Linked DNA regions of Homo sapiens: regions 1 and 3 are each linked to region 2. Evidence: promoter capture Hi-C in 16 types of primary human blood cells and fetal thymus (Javierre and others, 2016). All regions are on one chromosome and are shown on one strand. Each heading gives the region's core, a stretch centred on a gene start or on the middle of the fragment in contact. The rest is flanking DNA. Distances are from core to core; before and after follow the strand shown.

Evidence for each region. Contacts are between HindIII fragments. The CHiCAGO score rates a contact against its expected background, and 5 or more counts as called.
Region 1: a fragment that was not itself captured here is called in contact with the fragment with the promoter of SEL1L3 in region 2 in 5 of 17 cell types (naive B cells, naive CD4 T cells, total B cells and 2 more); the score reaches 7.9 in naive B cells.
Region 3: a contact is called between a fragment that was not itself captured here and the fragment with the promoter of SEL1L3 in region 2, in 1 of 17 cell types (total CD4 T cells). The highest score is 5.2, in total CD4 T cells.

Annotation. Positions count from the first base shown.
Region 1 is chr4:26,396,351-26,401,234 of GRCh38, forward strand. All of the region lies in intron 2 of RBPJ (recombination signal binding protein for immunoglobulin kappa J region), which reads left to right. Among named protein-coding and RNA genes, the nearest start is that of RBPJ, 78 kb to the left of the region's middle. The HindIII fragment of the contact is 3,568 bases long and covers 667-4,234 here.
Region 2 is chr4:25,860,000-25,864,688 of GRCh38, forward strand. SEL1L3 (SEL1L family member 3) reads right to left here and starts at 2,989. Exons shown (of 24, transcript NM_015187.5): 1 at 2,676-2,989. The coding sequence starts at 2,837. LOC102723733 (a long non-coding RNA gene) reads left to right here and starts at 1,128. Exons shown (of 2, transcript XR_427503.5): 1 at 1,128-2,154. RefSeq lists silencers at 1,988-2,282, 2,553-3,012, 3,063-3,222. The HindIII fragment of the contact is 3,672 bases long and covers 490-4,161 here.
Region 3 is chr4:26,417,274-26,421,905 of GRCh38, forward strand. It overlaps RBPJ (recombination signal binding protein for immunoglobulin kappa J region), which reads left to right. Exons shown (of 11, transcript NM_015874.6): 5 at 3,278-3,452. Among named protein-coding and RNA genes, the nearest start is that of CCKAR, 71 kb to the right of the region's middle. The HindIII fragment of the contact is 649 bases long and covers 1,422-2,070 here.

The sequences.
Region 1 (4,884 bases), core at 1,201-3,700, 540 kb after region 2:
GGGAATAAGAGAATGGAGTAGAGTAGGAAGAGACTATGCGGTCTGATCCCTGGGATTCGAAGAGTTAAGTTTGCATCAACCAGGATTAGAAATAGAAGAACCAAGATGGTGACTTGCCTTTGATTGTCAGCACCTCATACTATTTTATGTTCTCAGATTCTTCTAGTCCCAAATTTTTCTCTACATAAGAGGTAAAGCCTTAAGTAGCAAAATGGCTTATTTGTACAATAACCTTTTAAAGCTAATAGAACACAGATGTGTTGATGACCCATTGCTCTCAATGTAACGGCCTATGCCTATTTGGGAGTGGGAGGCGGGGAGGGGAAAACCAAGAGCTGGTCAGAATTTGAAAGAATGTGTCTCATAGCTGTGTGACAGGATTTGAAGCAATTTACTTACTTATCTACAAAAAACTTTTTGTGGAATTTTGGGACATTTTTACTTCTGCTATAAAAAGAGAGGATTGAAGTGAGGTTTGCAGGTGTTTCCTTAGGAACAGGACCTGTACTGTTGTTTAGCTTTGGTCACTGGTAGATGTAGACACTTAGTACAGCAGCCTCAATGTTTTATTGTGTTACAAGGGCACCAGGACCTTGTTGACTATTGATAGTATCCCTAGATTGTCATTTTCAAAACTGGTCCTCAGGCAAACAGTAGTTCTCAGGAAGCTTCCTTGGAAGAAAAACAAGGAGATCTTAGTCTGGTCTAATAGCTTGGAAAATGAAACCTACAAATATCCCTCTCTTGAAGATTTTGCTTAAGGTTCTGAGTAGTTCTGCCATGAATTAGTTTCACTTTATTTTATCTGATTTCACTGAAGCATCTTGGATTGAGACACGCTTCTTTGTAAACCGTAAGTATTGTGGAGCTCACTTTGAGAAGTGTCTGAGGCAGTGTAAAAGGCGAGACTGCCAGAGTCTGACAAAAATAGGGCAGTTCTTCAAGGTTTTGTGGGGGTGCGTATAAATCAGGATGCCTTTTGGCAGCATCCCCAAGTAGATGTGAGAAGAGTTGAGCTGAGCTTTCTGAACCCTCAGTTGTTCATAAGTCAAGTTTTGAGGAAGAATTTTATAAAAAAATTCTTGATTGAATGTCAGCCGTGCAATATACTTAATTGATTTAATTAGAATTCTGTTTTGCAACTTTTCCTTAAAAACTTTTAAAAATTGTCTGCAGGGATCAACAAGCATTTTCTGTAGCGTCAAGTAGTATATATTTTAGGCTTTGAGGGCCACATACTATCTCTGTTGCATATTATTAGTCTCTGTTTTGTAACTCTTTTTTTGTTGTTGTTGTTTTTTGAGACAGAGTCTCACTCTGTTGCCCAGGCTGGAGTGCAGTGGCGCGATCTTGCCTCACTGCAACCTCCACCTCCCAGGTTCAAGCGATTCTCCTGCCTCAGCCTCCCAGGTAGCTGGGATTACAGGCGTGTGCTACCATGCCCAGCTAATTTTTTGTATTTTTAGTAGAGACAGGGTTTCACTGTGTTAGCCAGGATGGTCTCAATCTCCTGACCTTGTGATCCGCCTGCGTCGGCCTCCCAAAGTGCTGGGATTACAGGCGTGAGCCACCTTGCCCGGCATTGTAACTCTTTGAAAATGTAAAAGGCATGCTTAGCTCCTAGGGGGCACAAAAACAGGCTGCTTTGTGATTTGATGACTGTGGCCTATTGTGTTTCTCAATATGCTCTTCAGTTCTCTAAAATGTTCACGAGTGATATTGTGTGTGTGTGTGTGTGTGTGTGATTACTTTGAAAATTCTTGATACAACAAAAATAAGTTTCTTCATTAGAAGACAGAGTTCATTTTGGACTTTTATTATTTGGATTTTAAAGTGACAGTAGTCCAATTTGAGAAGCGCAGAGAGTGAGCCTGGAGGTAAAGATGACTGGACCTCCCATCTTTGTGGTGGTTTTCTCCTCTTCCCTCTCTCCCACACTCCCTCCACTTACCCCTTGGACCAATCACAGAGGTGTGTAAGAGTGTGGTGAGAAAGTGAGGAAGTCTGTTTTCAGAAGAATGGCGATTAGCACCATAAGGACACCGCAAACTCACCGCTATAATTAATGTCCTAGCGGGAGATGTGGTTTGTAGTGTTTTCCATATGTCTTGGCCCTCAGAACTCCGTTTTAAGGAGGATCTTGCCTCCAGGAATTTACTTTGAGAAACACTAAGCTATGGATTAAATGTACACTTTACTAGCATGACATTTAAGGCTTGAGCCAATCTCACCCCACCCTGTCTTTCCAATCTCATCTTTCAGAATTCTGTTTTTCTTTTTGGAAACAGAGTCTCGCTCTGTCGCCCAGGCTGGAGTGCAGTGACGTAATCTCAGCTCACTGCAACTTCTGCCTTCCACGTTCAAGTGCTTCTTTTGCCTCAGCCTCCCAAGTAGCTCAGACTACAGGCGTCTGCCACCACACCCGGGTAATTTTTGTATTTTTAGTAGAGATGGGGTTTCTCTATGTTGGCCAGGCTGGTCTTGAACTCCTGACCTTGTGATCTGCCTGCCTCAGCCTCCCAAAGTGCTGGGATTACAGGCGGGAGCCACCTCGTCCAGCCCGTCTTTCAGAATTCTGTGTGTTATATACTTCAGCTACTTAAAAGTACTCAGTTTCTAGATACTAGGTTTTTTTGCAGTGCATCTTTACCTTTTCTTCTTGGCTTTTTTTGTTTTAACAAACTTAGGAATTAAAAACTTCCCTTTATATCCAGAATTTTAAAAATCCTGTAAAGAGACAAACTTTTCTGCCGTAACCTTAGTTATTCCCGCCACCACCCCTTTTCCTTATCAGCATGACTTACGTTCATTGCACTTTCTTCCCTTCCTTTCATTTTGTAGCTTGCTTCAGTGGTGTTGCCTCACCACCAGCTCACTGAGAAGATTCTAATTAAGCCGTTCCATTTATGAACTAATTGTCAAATTTATGAAGAGTTTCTAATCTTTATTTTTCTTGACTATTCTGTAATATTTAATAACATTGATTATGTTCCCTTAACTGAAGTTCTCTTTTACCTTTACGCGGGGACCAGGTTCTTCCCTTTTTTTGCAGACTCCCATTGCCTCCATTGGCATAACTAGTAAAAGTAGATCCATTAGAAACAGCACATGAGCTTATCTTACCATTCATGGATGTTTCACTGTAGTATTCTCTTTGTGGTATTTTTCTTTCCTTTTTTTTTTTCTGTATAAAAAAAGTTTGAATTTTATAAGGCAAACCACAGTCAAAAAATTGACAGAGGTAATCACAGATTAAGCATGTTGAACCAGAATGGCATTTGCCATAATTCCATAATTTCATGTTAGTAAAATTATTTTTGATAACAAAATCTCCTTTTTTTGTTTTGTTTTTTTTGTTTGAGATGGAGTCTGTCGCTCAGGCTGGAGTGCAATGGTGCGATCTTGGCTCACTGCAACCTCCGCCTCCTGGGTTCAAGCAATTCCCTGCCTCCTGAGTAGCTGAGACTATAGGCGCGTGCCACCATGCCTGGCTAGTTTTTGTATTTTTTGTAGAGATGGGGTTTCACTATGTTGGCCAGGCTGGCCTCAAACTCCTGACCTCAATTGATTTGCCCACCTCAGCCTCCCAAAGTGCTGTGATTACAGGCGTAATCCAATTGGTTTTCATTTAGAATGAAAATTTTATGTAAGAAATCATTAAATGAAATTAGTAAACAATAGACTTCAAAATTTACCTTATGTTTTAAAGTATTCAAAAAAACAGTTCAATAATAAAACAGTAATTCTACGGTCAAGGATTCTTCAGCACCTGTAATATGTTTTTCCAATAATAAAATTTTTGGTATTTTTTAATTAAAAAAAAACCTGGATGATTGTGATATCTTACCACTGAAATTTTTTGGGTTTATCCCAGTAGTTTTCATTCCATGTGACCATCTCACTCCATCCTCTTTCTTGACATTTGGCACCATCTGGAGACATTTTTAGTTGTCATAATTCAAGGAAGGGTGCTACTGGCACCTGCAGGGTAAAAGATAGTGATGCTGCTACATAGTCCTACAATGCACAGCGCAATCTCTCCACAGCAGAAAATGATTTTGCCCAGGATGTCAGCAGTGCTGAGATAGAAATCCTATTTATTGACACAGCCTTCCTCTATTTGGATGAAAAGCATATGGGCTATTATTTGACAGGCTTTTTACTATTTATTGTGTTTCTTTAGAGTATATCGTCTTGTTTTATGGCTCCTTAAGATGCAGAAAGTCAATGATCAAGCTTTAATTGCCAGAGAACATAATTTTTAATGTTTTAATATTCTGTTTAATAAAGTGAAATTTATTTTTACTGTTGAAAGAAGCTATTTGGCAAATTACTTTTACAGGACAACTATTGTTCATGATTACCTTGAGGCTCTAGTTACTTTTTCAGGAATTTGTATTCTAAACATGAAGGAAAAGACGAGGAAAACCAGAGCTGTCACCCTGCATTCATCATAAGCACTGTGAGGTCTTTGAACTGTGAACAGTTACATCCAGTAGTAGAAGCCAGTAGAATGCCCAGTGCCTAGAATATAGTAAGCTTCCAATAAATCTTCAGTGGGAAGATGGATAGTTGTGCACTTTACCTGGTGTACTTGCAAAATTTGTGCTTTGCACATTGGGTAACATGCCTGATCATTCATTCCTAGGTCATTTTCAAGTTTGCTCTCAAAGCCTCAGTGGAAGTCCCATTTTCCCTCCCTCTGCATTTTGTGTACTGTTGAAGGTTGAAGTCTTCTTTCTAAGGAAATAATAGTAATAGCTCGAGGCTACTGACACTTGCTTTCTGTCAGTTTGTGGGACTAACTTACTTTAAAGTGTCCCCCTGCCCCCACCACCAATATGAGGCATTACTGCCTTTATCTTACAGGTGAGAAAACTCAGG
Region 2 (4,689 bases), core at 1,739-4,238:
GACAATAAGCTAGTGTGGTTTAGAGCTGGGGCTCTGGAGGGAGACAGATTTGGGTTTCAATCTCAGACTGTATGGCCTGGGGCAACTAACTTAACCTCTCTGAGTCTCTGTTATCTCATCTAAATGGAGATTATAGTAGCTCCTACCTCAGAGGGCTGTTGCTAAGATAAATACTGGATAATGCCTATAAACGATTTAGCACAATGTATAGCACAATGTAAGCTATCGTTATTACCATGTAGGCTTTCAAATTATGAAAGACCTTTCCTCCTCTAGAGTCTACATATTCCTGGGATCCTGCCCAGCTATTCTGCTCCATCTCTACCCTGCACCTGCCCAGCCCCATCCCCCTGACCAACCACTTCCTCCAGGTAGCATTCCTTGATTGAGCAAAATGCACACAATTATACATTTGCGTTTTCTCTCTATTGTTTTATGTTTTTCAAGTGTTTCATATGGATATTTACATTTTCCCCAATTCTCACACCAAGCTTCTCCAAGATCAAGAAGCCTTGCCTTCAGTAGTATCTTGGGTAGTGTAGACCCAAGAGCAACATCCCTAGTAAACGGCTAGATCTTCAGAACAAAATGTGGAGACTACCTTTTAAGTCGGCCTTTTGTGTCCTTTGCAAAATGGCTCTCTTGTTTATCAAAGTCTGTCTTGTACAGTAAGCGTATCAGAAGTCCATCTGAAGGAAGCATACAAAGGCAGGAAGCACTGACATTTCCCCCCACCATGAGGTCCCCAAATCCATTCCTTCCCCATCTGCCAAGACATTCATCCATGCTCTAGTTATTTTCCACATCACAGTATTTTCTAAAATTACTCTTTCCGGAGCCCTTCCTCACTCCTTCACTATCTCACTTGAGTCTATCCATGGCATCATTTTTCCCTCTGTTCTCTTAATCCCCCTTGGTGTACACAGAACTTTCACAGGAATACTTGCTCCATCATTATCTGTCTCTGTTTCCAGAGTCCACTTAGGCCCTTAGGCTTTGCTCTCCTGACTCTGACTTCCTGAACTGTCCAGAAGTAGTCCCCCTCCTTGCCAGGTCTTGAGATGTCCACGTGGAACTTTTCGGCCCGGCCCATTTGTATATGAATGTTTCACGCAACACTCTACTACATCACTTCTGCTTCTGTGGGTAGCCAGCAGGGCCCTGTGTACAGGGATCATCTGTTTAAACTGAAATCTTGTCATTTGTTATGGCAGTTTTATTTATGAGCCTGTGTGTTGTAACCTTGTGGCATAAATATTAAATAATAATATCTCTTGGGCAAAAAAATATCATTCATGTTAACTGACAACTTCTTATGAAAATATGAAGTAAGCCCAACCACACAATTTGATATTGGCTAATTCTGAAATATGAGTAAAAGCACGGATTGCTCAACAGGTAGATGCACAGGCAGAATTATAATTTGCATTTTTACACCTTCTTGCTTCAAGAAATGAAACATTCAAGAAGTAAAAAACGTTAAAAGAAACGGGCTGAGTGGCAAATTTCTTCAGAATCAAATTCTAATTTCTGCCAGTATCTCCTAAGCAGTTTTTAGCTTCCAAAAAGAAAGACTCCAAATAATGACAATGCCACATAAGTGAAATGAATTCTGGACAATGACACTGCTCTTTTTTTTTTTTTTTTTGGCATTCTGTGAATTTCCTATTACATCAGTTTCATGATTCAGCATTTTCCATTTCATTTATTTACAGTAATATATGGCGAGATAACCCAAGGTTTCTGCAGGATTGTGGAACATAAGTTACTCTGGGCAGGAAGGGTGTCGCCTTCTGTAAATTTACTATTGTTTAGGAGAACTCAAAACAGAAGCAAGCAAGCCCTCAAAGGAACTGAGAAAATTTCTCCCCACTTTGTTCTGAGGGGTCTCAGCTACTCTGGTATTTAAAATAAATGGGTTTTGAAAAATAGGTTACTGCCCTTTAGTTGATGACTAAAACAGAAGCCAAGAAGTGTGCAAATTGCAAACTGACATGCATGAGCCAAACATATTCTCTGAAATGACAATGTTCAAGACGCAGCTAAAGTCACCACTCTGGCGGTAAGCGTGTTACAGAGAACTAGATTTCTTTCCGGCATCCGCAACTTGGCTGGAGTGACCAAGGAGGAGTTGAAGAGCGCTGGAGATGCGAGGTGCGTTGGCAGAAAACTGTCCGGGCCGGGAGGACCCGGTGGAAACTAAAAGGAGGGTCGACGCGGGTGGCGGGCGCCGAGAGTAAGAGGCGAAGTTGGGCACGGGAAGGAAAGGAGCTGCGAGAAGATTGAGAGGGAAGCCCAGGAGGGGTGGGGGGTTGGGGGGTGCTGGAGACTGCGCGCGGCGGGGCGGGGAGCGAACTCCGGGCGGCGAGGCTCCCGGGTGGAGTCGAGGACAAGAAGGGGTCTCGAGGGTAACCCGACCCGGGTCTAGAGAGAGTCCAGGAGGGAAAGGAATGAGCACGAGCGAGAGAGCAGCTTGGCAAGTCCGGTCCAAGCGCCCCTCTCCACGCCCGGGGTACCTATCCCAGGTGCCGGGAACGCCCGGGGCGCAGCGACGAGGAAGAGAGAAAACTAGCAGCGGCGTCCCCGCCCCGCGTGGCGGGTGTCCCCGGCCGCCCCCACCCGCGTCCCCGGGGCCCCGCGCGGAGGGGAAGACCCGGGCAGGGTCCGGCGCTCACCAGGTAGCAGAGCAGGAGCAGCGCGCAGGCAGAGCGGCCGCCGAGGCCCTGGGGGACGCCGCCACTCGGGACCATGGCTGCGGCCCGGGGGCCGACCGCGAGCGGCGGGGGTTGCTGCTGCTGCTGCCGCGGCCACCCGAGCCCCGCGCCGCGCCGCTGCATGGCGAGGCCGCCCGGATCCGGGCCGGAACAGGTCACCTGGTGCAGGGACCGGCCCCCGCCCGAGGCGCCACCTTCCCGCCCGCCCCCGGCCGGGCCGGCCGCCGCGCGCGGGGCCACCTGCCGCCACCTCCGGACCCGCCGCCGCCGCCACTGCCGCTCCCGCCGTCGCCGCCCCCGCAGCCCCAGCCGAGCGCCGGCTCCTCCCCGCCTCCCCGTCCCCGTCCCCTCCCTCCCCTCTGCCTCCCTGCCCAGCCCTCCTCCCGGCCGCTCCCTCTGGCCCCCGGGCTTCCACCCCTCGGAGCAGCGGGCGCCCACGCAGGTGGGCACCGACCCGGGTCCCGCCCCTTGGCCGCCGCCACCCCCCGCCCGGGTCGCTGGGCCCCGGCGCACCCCCCTTTCCCTTTCTCTCTGCTCCTCCCCCGCCCCCCTTCCGCGCTCCTGCTCTCTGCGATCCCCCTCCTCTCCCTCCGGCTCCCTCTTCCTTCTCCCCTCGCGCTCCCAAACCCCCTCTCTTTTTCACTTTCTCCTTTTCCTCCCTTTCCTCTTTCTCCCTTCCCATCCTCTTCCTCGCTTCCGCATTCTTCCTCTCCCACCCACCCCTTTTGCGGGTCGCACAGACCAGTTCCCGCCCGTGCAATGGGTTTTTGTCTGGTTGCTTTTTTGGCCGGGGCGCCATTCCCGCAGGGCGCAGGGCGAGTGTGCCCCCTGGAGTTGTGCCGCGCAGCTGCCCGGCTCCCAGGCCTTCAGGATGGATTTTGACCCCTGCCAACCTCCACCTGTCCACCTGCGGGGTTGGGACTGCCTCCTTGCTGGCATGTTTGCAGCCGGGCTGCGCCCCACCCTGCCGGCTGGTTCGCGGCACGTTCTGGATGTTTCCCGAGGGTTTTGTGTGGTGCCGCCGCCACCGCCACCACTGCGCTCTTTGTTTTAATTGTCCAGAGTATTGGCACCCAGGACGGGTTTGTATTTGATTTGCATCCCTGTGCTCCGGCTTCCACTTTGGACTGAGAAAAAAATGAATTAATTAGGTCAATACAGTAATACTGGAGCCCCAAATGAAAGGGGTGAGGCCCTGGAAGTGCGCAAACAGCTTTTTAAAAAACCAGGACACATCCTCGGCCTTGGGGACGCAGGTTGAGACTGGCTGCTCTCCGACCCGGGTTCTGCGGCCTGGCGGGGAGGGGCCTCCGGCCGGCGGGACCACCAGCTCGCCGCCGGCCTTGGCTTTCAGGGAAGCGCTTGGCTGTGTCTAGCGGCTCCGACAACTATCTGGGCCCGCAGCTGCTGCTCTGAAACAGTTAATCCACCTTCCAAAGTTCGCAGAAGCTTCCCTTTAGCACTGGTAGATTTGTGCGGATTGGAACTAATAATAGCCTGGGAGCCTGAGAGGCCACAGCCCTTTCCCTGTGCCACGAGCATAGGTCAAGTCACAACAGACGTCGGGGAGAGGCTGGTGGTGAGACGGGGTGCCCGGGATGGTTTGACGGGCGTGGACGCGCCCTCAGCTGCTTCAGTACAGGCCTGGCCACACCAGGCATGGTGGCTCCTCAGCTGTCGTCCACTTTTTTTTAGGTCACCTAAGAGCTGTGGCCTTGTGTGAGTTCCCTGGCCTTATTCCACCGGTTCTCAAACTTCAGAATTACCTGGAGGGATTGTTAAAACACAGATTCCTGGACTTCAGCCCTAGAATTTCTGACTCAGTTGGTCCTGGGAGGGACTTGAGAATGTACCTTTCTAACAAGCTCCTGGGTGATGTTAACGCGCTGGTTCAAACAGCCCTCCTCCATTTCCAGAACTATTGGCTTTTAGGGAACTGGGCTCCTGCTCCTCCCAGCCAGCTGCCACCACATTA
Region 3 (4,632 bases), core at 496-2,995, 560 kb after region 2:
AACCAACCAGTAGTATCACTGCTTGCCTTTCGCAGCATTGTGGCTTAGTAGTGCCACATCCTAATTTTGTACCTTTAGGGGCTGCCTCAACATGGAGATCTTTCTGCTGTTTTTCATTATATCTTTCTTCAACTTCCACTAGTATACCCTTTCCCCAAGGCCTAGAAACTGGCAGAAGAGGAATAGAATACCTGAGAGCTTGAGCATTTAACTAGTATTTAAAATACCTAGTAATAGGTTAGTACAATGTCTGTAAGCCAAAATTATATGTTAATATTTAATTTTAAGGAAAAATTCTATTAGGGAAGTTTATGTAAAGCAAGACTGGTGAGAGTTAGTAGAAGGCATCCCAGGCAGAAAAAAAAACAATATAATCATGTGCTTAGAGCATAAAGGTATAAGAACATGGTTTTGACCAAGGTAGGCAAAGATGTCCTGAGCAGCGGATTCTGAGCTTCAGTGAGAGGCACTTTGCTCTTGTCTGCCTCACTTAAACTCCATTCGTGTAAGGAAATAGTCTGTTCATTGAGTGGTACAATTAGTTATTGAGAAATATGGGATATTCATTTTGCAATTTTTGGTGTTTATACTTATTTTAAATATTCACTGCAACAAAATTCTAGTATATCTAGCCCTTTAAATTTATGGTCATGACATTTGGCTGTATGTAGGTAATATGTTGGATCTTAGATTTTGTGTAATGTTTTTAATTTGTTAAAAAAATTTACATTTTTTATAGTCACAGCTAGGTAAGCTACGCAACAAGGATGACTTAGTTAACACTCTTGTGTTTTTCTTATTTTTAAACATCATATACTCTTGGTAACATTTTGTTTCTATAATTTAAACATTTCTGCAGTATCACTTTGCAGCATTAGATTTGGTATTTCTTCTTTCTTTCAGGGAAATGTCTTTTATTGCCTAAAGATCTTGTTTTCAAAGAGTATTTCTAGAGAGATGATTATATGCCATTTTCTCTTCTAGAATTCCGTTAGCTAATTTAACCTTTTGCAATAGCAAGGCAAATGTAATTTTAGTTTTATTTGCTTATTTTCTATGAGTCAGTGACTTTTTCCTTCTTTTCTTAATGGAATTTGAGTAGTTTGTGGTCAGTGGCCTTATAGTTTTTTAAAACTAATAGTTCCCATAAAATTATCTTGATTATGATTTTTGTGGATTCAAACTACTCATTGTAATTAGGGATATATTTCCTTTCTTTCCAAGGAGATATATGTGTGTTTGTTTTTTCCGAACAAAATGCAGTTCTTTTTGTGTAGGTCTTATGATCCAACCTTCTTGGTTCTTTTTTTCCGTTCTTGTTTGCCAATATGTCTTATTTATGCTGGATTTCAGTATTTTCTCTTTCTGATATGGATCTTACCTTTTAATTTTAACACTCAAAAGCCATCTCAACATTTTTAAGCTTTCCCATTAGAATGTAATTACCTTCATTTAGATATAAATTTCATTTTTGCTTCCCATGACTGTCTGCTTTAGTACATTGATACCCATTTTCATAGACCTCGTCTTATGTTGCAGAAGAATTTCATTGTTTAGGCTTAATTTGACCTTCAATGCTGTCTGTCACTTTTAAGAGTATGGCCGACCTATGGGTATAGCAGCTCACAGATGCCATCTCTGAGTGCGTTAGAGATCTTGGGTGCAAGGAGTGATGTGACTGCAAAGTACTGTTGTTTTTTGTTTCTTTATCTTTATTCATTTTGAGACAGGGTGCCACCGTGCCGCCCAGGCTGGAGTGCGGTGGTGGGATCACGGCCCATTACAACCTCTGCCTCCTGGGCTCAAGCGACCGTCCCACCTCAGCCTCCTGAGTAGCTGGGACTACAGGCATGCACCACCATGCCTGGATAATTTTTGTGTTTTTCGTAGAGATGGGGTTTCACCATGTTGCTCAGGCTGGTCTCAAACTTCTGGACTTAAGCAGTCTGTCCACCTTGGCCTCCCAAAGTGCTGAGATTACAGGCATGAGCCACCACCCTGGCCTGTTTTTATTTATTACTATGATTGGCTTTATCTTATTTTTGCCTTCTACAGAGCAAAACCTCTCAAAGCTTTTACCAAACTTTTGATTTTTAAAAACTTAGTTAAATGTATAATGTTCAAGATGGCATCTAAATTTTCTTATATAGCTTTGCTATGAGAAATACAATAAACTATTGCAGTAGTTTTGTCTGCTACCGAGGCTGTCTGTGAATAAAATTTTAAAGATAAAAACCTAGAAGTCATTAACTGTTTCCTGAGTAGCATTTGCTCTGCTTTTTAAAAGGAAGATACAGGAGAGGCAGTTGAAGAAACTTGTTTAGCTTAATTTTAAAGTGGAATGTTGATCCTTTAAAAAATATAATTCGATACTTTAGATACTTATGCTGTGTTTCAGCATCATTTATCTTATCTGGAAAAGGACAATAATTTAGACCCCTCCCTGATTCACAGGGATCAAGAGAATAGGAAAGATTTTAGAATTGTTATATATAATATAAGCAGTAGCATTTTGAAGGGTCTTTGCTGTTTGTAAAGTGCTATATCTCTTTATCTTTTCAGTTATCAGAATTTAAATTCTGGTAAACTGACATAATGCCTTGAGCATTTTCTCTAGTACCTTTAAATTCAGTTCTTCTGGTGATACATATGAATCGTCCTTTTGGGCAAAGTTAACCATTTTAAAAATAGTTCTTTAAAGTAATGCTTATATAATCTCTTTCTGGTTTAAGATATTTTATAATCATCCAGTTTGTCTATCATTGTTTTCCTCAATCTTATAAGTGATTACTCTAGTGTTCAGCTATATAAAGAAAAATATTTTATGCACTATTTTGAGAAGAACTACTGCTAAAATCTTTTACATAATTTCTTGAATTCTGATAGCTTTATTATTATTTTTTTTTTGGAGAAAGTCATTGATTTTTTTTAACTGTAAAATTTATTTTAAAAGTTACTGCTGTAACGTTGAGTGATAATTCCATGATACAGTTGTAGAGCTATGTAAAACAAGAAAAGGCTGTTTTTTTAAATGGTCTTTTAAAGAGGATACAATAGATGACAATGTTTGTGTTCTACAGACTTTATAAGGAAGACTTTGTACTTTTCCGAAATCAATTTCAGTAATTTTTATAGTTGATAATTTTTAGAGTTGGTTTTATCAGCTATCCCTTGGAATTGTTTTACTTATTACTTAAACCATGGCCATTCTGAGTTTTAGGTACTACATAAACAAACAAGGTTTTGCTGCTGTTAAAACTTTACTTTTCTTTCACAGAACTATTGCACAGCCAAAACATTGTATATATCTGACTCAGACAAGCGAAAGCACTTCATGTTGTCTGTAAAGATGTTCTATGGCAACAGTGATGACATTGGTGTGTTCCTCAGCAAGCGGATAAAAGTCATCTCCAAACCTTCCAAAAAGAAGCAGTCATTGAAAAATGCTGACTGTATGTATGCTTTTCTTATTTATCCCCAACTGCCACCATGAATTAATAAGACAGACTCTTTTTTAAATTAAAAATTGCCTTTTCAATAGCCAATTAATTCTTTACTAATATTTTTGTGGCCCTCTTTATTGTCTCTCTTTTTTTAATCGTAAATCGACAGTATGTGGTCTAATGAAGCAGTTCTTAACCAGAGTTGGTTCCTTAATGCTCCCAGGGACATTCTGGGGAAATGGGAGATTTTCTCCTTCTGTTGTTACAGTGACTGGAGGGGGTGATGTTGGCTTTGGGTGTCTTGAGCCTGTGGTGCTGAATTGAATGTCCTGCAGTGTCCAAGGTAGTTCCCATTCCACAAAGAATTGATCTACCCACAATGTCAACAAGTACCCCTTTGAAAAACGCTACCAACTAAATGGGCTTTGGCAGGCCTTCCTGAGAATCTAAACACAATTTTTAATGTGGTTGCTCTGGCAGAGACTGCTGTCTCATCAGCCTATTTTTAGACTACCAAACAAGTATGTTTGAATTATAAATTTAACCTCCACACCCATTTTTCTTTTTTTAACTTTTTATTATGGAGACTTTTCTTTTTTTTTTTGAGATGGACTCTTACTCTGTCGCCCAGGCTGGAGTGCAGTGGCAGGATCTCAGCTCACTGCAACCTCCACCTCCCGGGTTCAACCAATCCTCCCTGCCTCAGCCTCCTGAGTAGCTGGGATTACAGGTGCCCACCATCACGCCCGGCTGATTTTGTATTTTTTAGTAGAGATGAGGTTTCGCCATTTGGCCAGGCTGGTCTTGAACTCCTGACCTCAGGTGATCCACCCACCTCGACCTCCCAAAGTGTTGGGATTGCAGGCGTGAGCCACCATGCCTGGCTGAGACTTTCAAATTTATATAAAAGGGAGAAATTAGCCACCCAGCCTCAACAGGTTTTATCAATTCTGTTTCATTATCTCCATCACCACCAACACCTCTTCGTCTTCTAATTGCTGGAGTATTTTAATGTAAATCTCATCCTATCCTTTCAACCAAAATTTCTGCAATAGTGACTAATACATGCCCTTTTTTTTGAAACATCATTATACGTAACAGTTGACAGCAGCTCTTAAGTGTCATCTAATATCCTATTTCATGTACAGATTTATCAGATTGACCCAGAATGTCTTTTTATAGTTTTTTT